Linked DNA regions of Homo sapiens: regions 1 and 3 are each linked to region 2. The links are contacts of gene promoters, found by promoter capture Hi-C in blood cells and fetal thymus (Javierre and others, 2016). All regions are on one chromosome and are shown on one strand. The core of a region is centred on a gene start or on the middle of the fragment in contact, and the rest is flanking DNA. Distances in the headings are between cores, read along the strand shown.

Region 1 (3,771 bases), core at 12-2,511, 380 kb before region 2:
GCAGAGTCTCGGGCTCCGTGCCAGGCCTCCTCAATTGCAAGGCACATAACAAGATGCCAGGTGACATTCACAGGCTCATTAAAGTGAGGAATGCTGAGCTTCTGCAGTCTGTCTGGGATCACCCTGGTCCCACTGTCAAAGTTCATCAGGGTTGGCTTTTACTGTCCCTGCGATCATCTGCAGTTTCTTATCCAGGCATGTGGCTGAATCAGGGCTGGCCTGCCAGCCTCCCACCCCCATGTGCTCCCTGGGGCCACCAGGCAGCTGTGAGAACCACTGCTCAGAATTCCTTCCCCAGCTGGGCTCCTAGGACTGAAAGACCTTCCACACTAGCTGCCAAGAGGGCAGGGTTTTCTCTGTGAAAAGAGGAGCCCCCGCCACCCCTCCGAGTCCCTCTTGGCTGCTCAGCAAGGGCCAGGAGGGAGTCTGTGTGACCTGTGCAGCTTGCTCAGGTTTGTGCCCAGTGCTGCTTTGCCAGTCGTACCAGCTCCCTCCCCTCCAGTCTTGTGCCCCATCTGCCACAGGCCACTGCAACAGGCCACCTCCCTGCTCTGTACCAACCCAGTCCAGCATCCCCCTGCAGAGCCAGGAAGAGTCTTAGAGGAGAGAGTCCTGTGGGAAAGAGGAGAAATCTTTGGTGGTCTGATCCTCTGGACCCTGAGCCAGCAGCTCCCTTCTTTATGGCACCTTAGTGAAATGGGATGATGACACTGACCTGCCTGCCCCATGATGTGAAGTGTGTCAAAGGCGAAATGCTGTGTTAAAACTGCAAAACCCTTCTCAAATGTGAGGCTTTCAAAGGAGTGGTAGCTTTTGCAGGAATATTTGAAGTTCAAATAAGAGGCAAGGCAAGCATTATTTTAGAGAAACTTATGTAAGACTGAAGTCCGACTCTGCTGAGCACTGTGCCTAGGGCCGAGGGACCCAGGAAGAACAGATTGTGACATCTGCCTTAAACAGATTTGCTCCAGCTGTTTGGTTTGTGTGTTTTTAGTAGCCTGCTTCTTAGATGTATTTTGCTCTTTTAAAAAGCTTAATCTCCCCTACAGTTGTCCAGCAATTAATTAAATGTGGTGTAAGTTTATCTTAAACTTCCTTAAACAGACTGCATCTTGTTCAAATGCAATTAGGAACAAACCTTTCATCTCTGGTGAATGAAACTTTCAATAAATAAGGCTGCTTGTGTCAGACAGGTGGCTCCCTCCTGCCATTTGCCAGGGTTTTTACAGAGAAAACCCTGCCATCAGCATGAGATGACCCTTGCTCAGGTGGCCCCAGGAAAGGTCATCTCCTGCTGAGCTACCTAGGAAAATCCTGCAGTCATCTTCCCTCCAAAAGACCCCATCCAAACAAATGCCAAAACTTGACTGCCGACCACCTACCTCTTAGGTACCTGGCACTGGCCAGTTGCTGTGGAGGAGAAATAAAACTAGTGTCATCGTCTCTTCCCCAAGATGCTAACATTTAGCTGGGGCACCCAAACAAGCTTTATTTAATCACAATAGAACATTCCAAGACAGGACAAGTTGTTTGCAATCTGCACATGGATCAGGTTTGAAGTAAGAAGTTATGGATTGGAAGTCTGGGCCTACAAAATACATTTTCCTGGATAAATGACTGGCATTCTAACTAGAGCCAATGGCCAATCCACAGCCATCTGCTGGACCTATAAAATGGCCAAATGTCAACCATGTACTCAAGAGTATTATGGCCTACAGTTATCATTTAACTAGAAGGATGCGTTGGAGCAGGGACAATGTAACCCAAGTACCAACTGGAGCTGCTGGCAGCAGAGCCCAGCCCAGGACCAGCCTGGTAGAAGGTTTGCAAGGATACTGCCCACCTGCAGGTGGGAGGGAGGTGGCCTCCCTTCATTGCCATTCTGAGCCTACAGGTGGCTCATGAGGCCTCGTTTGGGAGGGTATGAGTGTAAAGAACAAGGGCTGGAGATACAGTGCAGAGCTATGGTGAGACCCCTGGGGCCTTGTGCTCCTGCCCCATTCTCACCTGTCATCTTGCCTTTGCACCAGGCCTTTCCCCCTAGTTCTCTGGCCTTCTACCACCACCTGTTGCCTTAAGTCTGGCTCAGCTGGCATGGTCTGGAATAGAAAATGGTCTGACAGCTGCTTCCTGTCCCTCCAGGGCCTTTTGCAAGAAAGGGCCAAAGGGCTGAGTCTGCAGTTAATGGGGAGACTCACAAGGCCCTTCCAGTCCAGCCAGAGCAGCCCTTGCCCAGGCAGGGACAGGAGTGTGGGATACAGAGGAGAGCAGTTGGGGGAAGTAAGAGAGCCGCTGGAGAGATGCATGCCAAGCAGCAGCACCGGGGTGGGGAAGGGGGGCCTGCCTGATCTATTTGGCTGTGAAGCTGGGCAAGCACGGCTGGGTAATTTGTTCCTGAACTGATGGGCCAGAGATTGTTCCAACCTCCCTAGCCCTCAGCAGGCTGGCCCTGTCTTTGGGCACATACAATTTGTCTAATTCTGGAGCCAGCCCTTGCCTTCTGGAAGTGGTGGTGCCCACGAATCAGGAGTTCCTGCCCCCATGTGGGAGCTAGGCCCTGTCCTCAGCCTTCCACTTGCCATGGGCCCCTGTTGGCTGCGGACTGAGGCATCTGTGTAACTTGCAGGCACTTTTCCTCCATATTGTTAGGCTGAGGCATTAGAAGCCTGTTTCAGGGTTATAGTGCAGACAATTAGGAATGTGGTTTTGTTTGTTTGTGTTTTTAACCACAGTGTCTGAAACTACTGGTAGGCATGCTCGGGAGTTTGGGTACCCTGGGTGGCTTCTCTCCCAATCCTCTTTGAGACATCTATTCCTAGATGAGCTATGGGGAAATATTGAAAACACGTCTATTCAGATGAGGATTCTGACAGCCTCCATTGTCCCCCATAGATCTAACTTGCCATTTGCTGCTCTCGTTGCCCTTAGACTTGAAGCCCCAGATGCTGTCGGGCACAGTGCCCTGTCTCCCCGCCTACATCCTCTACATGTGCATCCGGCACGCGGACTACACCAACGACGATCTCAAGGTGCACTCCCTGCTGACCTCCACCATCAACGGCATTAAGAAAGTCCTGAAAGTAAGCAGCCCCTGCAGAAGGTCATGGTTTGTGGTGGGTAGAGTGAAGCCAGCCCCTTACTGTTGCTTCTCTGTGTCTGGGTTTGGCTGTAGTGAATGCTCCTAGGGCTCCAACTTTGAAGGTAAATGAGCCACAGAAGCATCCATATAACCAGGATGCCTGGCAGTTCCCAGAGAAGGATGCTCAGGCCCAGCAATGGCAGAAAGCCGAGGACTCTGGTGTAGGTAGCCCTCCAGCTCCTCCCTGCTGAGCCTCCAGACATGCCCAGTGCTTACAGAAGCCTTGGCCTGCCCACTGCCAGAGGTGCTAGGGAGACATCCTGCTGCAGCCAAGGGTGTGTGGGCCTCACCCTGGAGCAAGTTCAGGGACACCCCTGAAACATGGGCCCTCTCCACCTTTCCAAGGGGCCGGGTGCTTGCTTCCCTGGGGGGTAACACAGGGAGGGCTGTGACATTCCATCACCTCCCAAGGTGAGGCAACCTGGGCCAGGACAGGGCTTGCCGCATGGTGTTAAAGGTGCTCGGGAATGCCACCTGAAGGCACAAGGCTCTTCTTGAATGTAGTGCAGCCACTGCAGAAACAGGCTGGCCTGCAGGGAGGGTGAGGCCTGTCCACACATGGATGAGGGCCAGGCAGTGGGGGAGGTGAGATTCTTGAGGGAGATGAACCCTCAGTGAGAGGGATTTCTACC
Region 2 (3,696 bases), core at 1,139-3,638:
GGAGACGATGTAAAATTTCACTAATAGGATCCCCTTGAAATAAAATATTTTGCTTCTTAGGTCTATAAAGCCAGTTTTGAGGAGATGCTCACAACTGTTGCTGAGTCAGTCTGGGGAAAGTAGACTGTGTGCCAGGCAATATTAAAAAATATTTTGAGTTAGGTTTTCATGCCTGAGTCTCTTTTTTTATTTTTTATTTTTTTGAGACAGAGTCTGGCTCTGTCACCCAGGCTGGAGTACAGGGGTATGATCTCGGCTCGTGGCAACCTCCACCGTCTGGGTTCAAGTGATTCTCCTGCATCAGCCTCCTGAGTAGTTGGGGCTACAGGCGCATGCCTGGCTAATTTTGTATTTTTCGTAGAGACGGGGTTTCGCCATGATGGGCAGGCTGGTCTCAAACTGCTGACCTCAGGTGATCTGCCTGCTTCGGCCTCCCAAAGTGTTGGGATCACAGGCATGAGTCACCACGCCCAGCCCTGAGTCTCTTTTTGCTGTAATTTTAAAATAAAATTGTACATGTACTTCATATTCCTTGCAGAAAAATTAGAAAACATAGGGAAAAACTAATTTTAACCACACAGGATCTCATTACCCAAAGTTGCAATATTGTTAATATTATTTGTCTTTTTTCCAACAGCACATATACATAGGTATTATAAATATTATAGTAAACATATATTACATATGTTATATTAATATATCATTTAATATATTAATATAAATATTATATTAAGTGGCAAAACCACAATTAGTTTTGCACCAACCTAATATAATTCACTTATGAAAATTTGATACTATATATGTTTCCACTCAGTGTATCATGAAAATGTTTTCAAATAAATATGCATCCATAGCATTCTTTACAATGACTGCATAGTAGTGTCTATGGCTTTTTAGTTAGGTAGTTTGGGGTTTTTTTTTTTTTTTGAGACAGTGTCTCGTTCTGTTGCCCAGGGTAGAGTGCAATGGTGAGATTATGGCTCCCTGAAGCCTCAACCTCCCGGGCTCAAGCGATTTTCCCACATCAGCCTCCCGAGTAGCCGGGACCGAGGGTGTGCCAACCACTCCCAGCTAATTTTTGTATTTTTTGTTGAGACAGTGTATCGCTATGTTGCTCAGGCTGGTCCTTCCGAACTCCTGGGCTCAAGTGATCCTCCCACCTTAGCCTCCCAAAGTATTGGGATTACAGGCATAAGCCACAGGGCCCAGTCTACTTTGGGTTTTAATATGTTTTCCTGTCATAATTCTGCAAGCTCAGTGAATTTACTGGCAGTCTATGCTAGAAAAGAATACCTAATATTTGTATAGTACTTTACAGAGTACACTGGCACATATTGACTATATAATGGGAATAACGGTGCTATCTGTTCCATAGGGTCATTTTGCGAAATAATAGTGCATGGCAAATAGAAAATAATCCATAATGTGAATTGTTATTACTACAGTCATGTCAACATTTCCTGTAATGGCAGAATCATCATCATGCATATATTTTAGGTGAGGAAACTGGCTGAGAGAGGTGAAGTAATTGCTCAAAGACGTCAGTGTGGAAACCTCAGCTCATTTGACTTCAAATTCCATAGTTTTGGCACTATCTCATATTGCTACTCTTTCCCGTGGGACCTGTCCTTTCCGACAACTTTGCAGGCAGGGCTAGCCCTGCCAGCTGCCTCCATCAAAAATTATTTTGCTATTTCTCAATTCTCCAGAATCCCACACAATATTGCTTGACTTTGGGATGGTTATTCAGCTGCAATTAACAGAGGCCTTAATAAGGTTAAGCCGCCAGAACGAGCGGTGTAGCATGAGCGAGGACTCTAGCACCTGGCAGGTGAGGTTGACTCTAGCACCCGGCAGGTGAGGTTTTTGCGCTTCTCTCTCTCTCTCTTTTTTTTTTTTTGAGAAGAGTCGAGCTCTGTCGCAAGGCTGGAGTGCAGTGGCCCGATCTCGACTCACTGCAATCTCCGCCTCTCGGGTTCAAACGATTCTCCTGCCTCAGACAGCTACTTTTTGACTCACTGCAATCTCCGCCTCTCGGGTTCAAACGATTATCCTGTCTCAAACAGCTACTTTTTGTATTTTTAGTGGAGACGGGGTTTCACCATGCTGGCCAGGATGGTCTCGATCTCCTGACCTCGTGATCCGTCCACCTCGGCCTCCTAAAGTGCTGGGATTACAGGCGTGAGCCACCGCGCACGGCTGTTTTTGCGCTTCTCGATTTCGCCACGTGGCTTTGCGGTAGCCCAGGAGGTACTAGGAGGGCGGAGGCACGAATAACACCCAAAGGACTACAGTTTCCAGAAGCCCGCGCGCGCCGCGTGCCACGTGACCACCTGGCTGGCGCGCGCGCCTGGGGGTCTGGTCCCTAGCCGCGTTCTCGGTCGCTTCCCTCTTCTCTCGCCGCCTCCTGGCCTCCGCACCGACGCGGCCCGGGCTGGAGCCGAGCCGGGGCCGAGCTGCAGGCCGGACCGGAGCCGGATCTGTACCCGCTGAGACGTGGAAACATGGAGGCCTGAGCCGGTGTGCGCCACCTGGGCTGCGGCGGCGACAGCGACTTCTCCTGACCCCTCTGCCACCCTCCCATCCGTCCGCGGGTCCGTGGAGCTGGAGCAGATCCCCCAGCCGGCTGAGACAGGTGGGCTGTAGCGCCGCCCCCCTCAGCGCGGCCGGGCCCGAAAGCCTGGCTGTCCCCGGCCTCCTGTCAGAGGGGGTCAGGGGCCACCCTCCGCAACCCGGCCAGCGCCCCGGGGCGGCGGCGAAGGGACCCTCCCTTCCCTGCCCGCGGGCGCCTGGGCCACCCGGAGGGGCTGTGCTGACAGCGGACGGACCTCTGTCCGAGTCCGCTGTTGGGAGTTGGGGGATACCGAAGGCCAAGTCGGTGCTTCCGGAGATGGGGCGGTGTTGGTCTGACAAATGGGCGTGTGATGGGCAGGGTGAGCAATAGCTGTTGGGTTTTTCTTTCTTCTTTTTACATTCATAGTTTATCGAGGTATAACTAACATATCAGAAAATTAACCCTTTAAAAGTACAACTCAGTGGTTTTTAGTATATTCACAGGGTTGAGCAGCCATCACCACCCTTAACTCCAGAGCATTTTTAATCACCGCCCCCCCCGCCCCAAAGAAGCTCGTACCCATTAGCAGTCACTCCTCCTTCTCTCCCCTACACTATTGATCTACTTTCAGTCGCCGTGGATTTGCCTGAGCAATTGTGTTTTGACTGAAAAGTGAAAGGGTGGGTGTTTGTGAACTGGGGGCAGTAGTGGGGTTTGAGGGTATTGGTGTGGTAAAGCTGATTGGATAAAGCTGTTCTCTACTGAACAGGGGTAGAGAAGTGATGGGATGATTGTAATCGGCCAGCAAAGCGGGTACCCAGGATAGACTGATTAGGGGGCACAGATGGAGTGAGTTCCTTGAAAGAGGAGAGGGGAAGTTGGAGAGAGGGGTGTGTAGAGCAAGGGTGATGTGCTGAAGGATGAAAACCTGGAGGGTGGAGGCCGTGGAGAGGAATGTAGCGTCCACCAGAGGAACTCAGGTGCTTAGGCTGATGAGTTGAGGGCTCAAGAGAAGAACGAGGTGGAAGGGAAGAGAATCTATAGGAATGGGTGAATGGTTGTTGCAGAGGATGAAATTTATGAATATATGGATTTCTGGAGTGATTATCCTGCTTTGAAGTTTTATTTTAGATAATCCTCTC
Region 3 (3,523 bases), core at 188-2,687, 400 kb before region 2:
TGGAGGATTCCAGCTGAACCAGGGTCTACCTGTGTGCTCTGGACTTGGGTGCTCTCTCCTCCCAGGGGCACCTCCTGGCCATCTTCCCCCACCGCCCCACATGCAGCTCTGTCTCAGCCTGGCCTCGTTGTTCTGTGTCTCTTCCAAGATGACCTTTTGGAGTCATGTTCCTGGCGTGGGTTTGATTGTGGTTATCTCTGTTCTTTCCAGGCCTTTGTCTTTTCCCAAAGGCATGTTTTTATACCTGTTTGTATATAAAGCCATTTTGTGGCAATTGTTTAACCAGAGTTATTTTTTTATCTGGGGCTTTCTAGGAGCCGAACATTAATGCCAGATCAAGTTGGCCTAACAGTGAAAAGCATGTTGACCAGGAGGATGCCATTGAGGCCTATCACGGGGTCTGCCAGACAAACAGGTAAGGCCGCCGCGGTCAAATGTGCTGGACGAGGCCGCGGAGAAGGGCCCTGCCCAAACGAGTCTGTTTGGGGTTTTCCTCAGGTGATGACCATGTGCTCAGCATCAGAGAATTATTTATTAGAGGACACAGAAAGACTGACTCAGAACCCCTGCCCTACTGTTAGCTCAGCAAGGCTCGAGCAACACGCTCTCAGCATCTAGAGCCCAGGTCCCCTGAAAAGGATTAGGAAAAAGGAGCTTCCCTGGGAGGATGACAGGAGTGGAATAGGAAGGTCTGGCTGAGAACAGCTTTTCTTCTTGAGAGGATGCTGGCTGGGGAGGGGGGTGGGGGGTGGCTAACTGGCAGCAGAGGGCTGCTTAGCCATCTGCTGCAATGCCCTTCTCATGCATGCAGTGTGTGTCACACAGTGGGGGCCCACCCTCTGTCATTCAGAACAGATGGAACCCAAGCTGGGCACTTGGGGGTGGAATGGAAGCATTTCACCTCCACCGTCTTAGCCAAAATGAGATCTCCCTGGATGTGAGTTTAGCAACCACTGTCCCCTCGAAAATAAGCTGAGCCAGGGTTAAGGCAAGCAAGAGTGATTGTCTGAGGGCAGCAGCAGGGCCAAGCGTTGTCAGCAGACAGAACGCAGACCCCCAAGGCAGAGTGTCTGAGAAGGTGCACTGCAGAGTCCACTCCTCACGGTTTAGTAGCGGTCACATGACCGATAGGTGCCTCAGTTGCCTCATCTGTGAACTGGGGACAGCCATAGCGGCATCCTTCCTGTGGCTTTGGGAAGATGGGGTGAGCTCCTATCACCTGTGTAAGGGACTTAGGACAGTGCCTGCCTGTGGTGCGCACATGATGAGTGTTACTGCCGTGATACTGTTGTTATCATCTGCTTCCTCATGCCCCTGTGGGCACCTATAAAAACGGAGCTGTCTGGCCGAGCATAGTGGCTCACACCTGTAATCTAAGCACTTTGGGAGGCTGAGATGGGCAGATCACCTGAGGTCAGGAGTTTGAGACCAGCCTGGCCAATGTGGTGAAACCCTGTCTCTACTAAAAATACAAAAATTAGCCGGGCGTAGTGGCGGGTGCCTGTAATCCCAGCTACTCAGGAGGCTGAGGCAGGAGAATTGCTTGAACCCAGGAGGCGGAGGTTGCAATGAGCCGAGATCATGCCATTGCACTCCACCCTGGGCAATGAGAGCAAAACTGTGTCTCCAAAAAAAAAAAAAAAAAACATGGAGCTGGCCTCTTCCCTGGCTACCTTTCTCTCTTACCTCAACTAATAGAATGTTGATCAAGTATTTGTTCAAAATTGGTGAAAATAGCAAACATTTCCCAAAAATGTCATTAGGTGGCACTGTGAGTGCCACTTTAAGTTTTTTTGCAAGAATGTCACAGAGTCACTGAAGACTTCTGGTACTTTGATTCCCAGATCTTTTCATCCAGTCCCTCTTTCTGCAGAGAAGGAGACTGAGGCCCGGGGGGGTGGAACAGCTTAGGCCCACGGGTGGCCTGTGCCTGAGTCAAGGTAGAATCCGGAAGGCCTGACTCAGGCTGGGGCAGTTTCCAGCCACTGAGTAGGTAATCAGAAGTTGAAGGTGGTGTCACAGGCTCCAGGAGGAAATTAAATTTATTTCAAGAGAGGTATAATTCTTTTCCCTAAAGGAGGGAGAAAAGGAATGAAGGTGACTCTCTCAGTGCTAAAACTGGAGTCAAGATTTAGTCATTTTAAATTATCTTGGGTTGAAGATAAGAAATGAGATGAATAAGAAAAAGCCCAGGTGATACTAAAGTAGAAGGGAAGAAGCAGCTGTGTGCTTGGTCTGACAAGCGGTGTGCGTATCTCCCCGATCTTCAGAGCCGTCACCATTGGCAGCCTCTTTTATTCATGCAGCGGTTGTCAGGGATCCAGACCCCAGTTTAGGTTTTCCCAGGGGCTGCTTAATACCCTGGATTTGTCTTCCTTTACAGCAATAATAATGATGGTGATAAAATAAAAATAGCTTTTATTATATCTTAAAATAATTCTGTTCCCAGCAAGCCTGGTGTACAATAGGAAATTAATAGCCTGTGAAACTGAGTTAAGTACAGAAAAGGAGCTGGCTGCCCTGGGGAGTGGAGGCCTGAAGAGCCAGCTTCGCAGTGTGTGCTGCACCAGGTGCTGTGGAAGTGGCCATGGTGGGCCTGCCTCTCTCCCAGTCTGGCCTTTAGCTTTGGGAAGTGTTCATGATTGCTGCAAATCCCAGCATTGAGGGAGGAGAGGCAGGGAACAGGGACCCAACTGGGATTCTGTGGAGCCCATGACAAGGGGATTCCCATTACCATGAGGGCCACCCTGGCAACTGGGGTGCTTTGGAGATAGACAGCTGCTCTGCGTTTCCTACAGTTTTCCTGTAATGGAGAGTTCTACTGTTTAAATATAAATTATATCTACACATGTGTGATTTGTGAAAGACCATTTAGAATTTTGATGACATCTATCCTCTCCCTAGAGGAAGTTACACTCATATGCTGAATTTTGCTTAGATTTCTGGGGGCTTCCATCACATTCCCAGTCATAGCCTCTTTAAGCATTCATGATCCTCAAGTTCAGAACTTTTATCACTTGCTAACCTTCATAAGTTTGTAGAGTTTTGTTTTGGTCCCTATAACTGTGTCTTTTCCCTTGTTTTGAACTCTGGGGAGAGAAGCTATTATTGAGGAGCTGCTCTGAGAGGAGCTGCAGGAATGCGGGTGGCACTTCTGCTTCCACAAAGCTTTCTCCTTTTTTACCTCTGGGAACTAAGAGACACCAGCATCATTATCACCATTTTATATATAGGAAAATGAAGGGGGAAGAGGGCTGTGAACATGAGCTGGGTGCTGGGCAGTTTGTCTTCTTTTCAGGGCTGTATATGGGAGAAGGATGGGGAAGTGGTTTAGGAGGGCACAAGTTGCCACTGCCCTCAGCCCAACCTCACCTCGGGGTGAGCACTTAAAGTCAGAGTTAGGTAGGGGCAGGAGTGTGGCCAGGGCTCTGGTCTGGCTCTTTGACAGTGCTCCTTTGATTCCTGTCCACTTCTACCCAAGCCTTATCAAGAGTGTAAAACTCCAAAGTGAGACTGGTGCATT

What was found. The method cuts DNA at HindIII sites, captures the fragments that hold promoters and counts their contacts. A CHiCAGO score of 5 or more calls a contact.
Region 1: a contact is called between a fragment that was not itself captured here and the fragment with the promoter of DYM in region 2, in 2 of 17 cell types (megakaryocytes and total CD8 T cells). The highest score is 5.3, in megakaryocytes.
Region 3: a contact is called between a fragment that was not itself captured here and the fragment with the promoter of DYM in region 2, in 3 of 17 cell types (megakaryocytes, endothelial precursors and erythroblasts). The highest score is 7.6, in megakaryocytes.

What each region holds. Positions count from the first base shown.
Region 1 is chr18:49,842,550-49,846,320 of GRCh38, reverse strand. MYO5B (myosin VB) reads left to right here. Exons shown (of 40, transcript NM_001080467.3): 34 at 2,929-3,080. The region is part of intron 3 of SNHG22 (small nucleolar RNA host gene 22); the gene reads right to left. Among named protein-coding and RNA genes, the nearest start is that of SNHG22, 30 kb to the right of the region's middle. RefSeq lists an enhancer at 371-872. The HindIII fragment of the contact is 454 bases long and covers 1,035-1,488 here.
Region 2 is chr18:49,459,337-49,463,032 of GRCh38, reverse strand. DYM (dymeclin) reads left to right here and starts at 2,388. Exons shown (of 18, transcript NM_001353214.3): 1 at 2,388-2,635. RefSeq lists a silencer at 2,410-2,989. The HindIII fragment of the contact is 8,649 bases long and covers 1-3,696 here.
Region 3 is chr18:49,860,119-49,863,641 of GRCh38, reverse strand. It overlaps MYO5B (myosin VB), which reads left to right. Exons shown (of 40, transcript NM_001080467.3): 29 at 315-415. Among named protein-coding and RNA genes, the nearest start is that of SNHG22, 48 kb to the right of the region's middle. The HindIII fragment of the contact is 3,467 bases long and covers 1-3,170 here.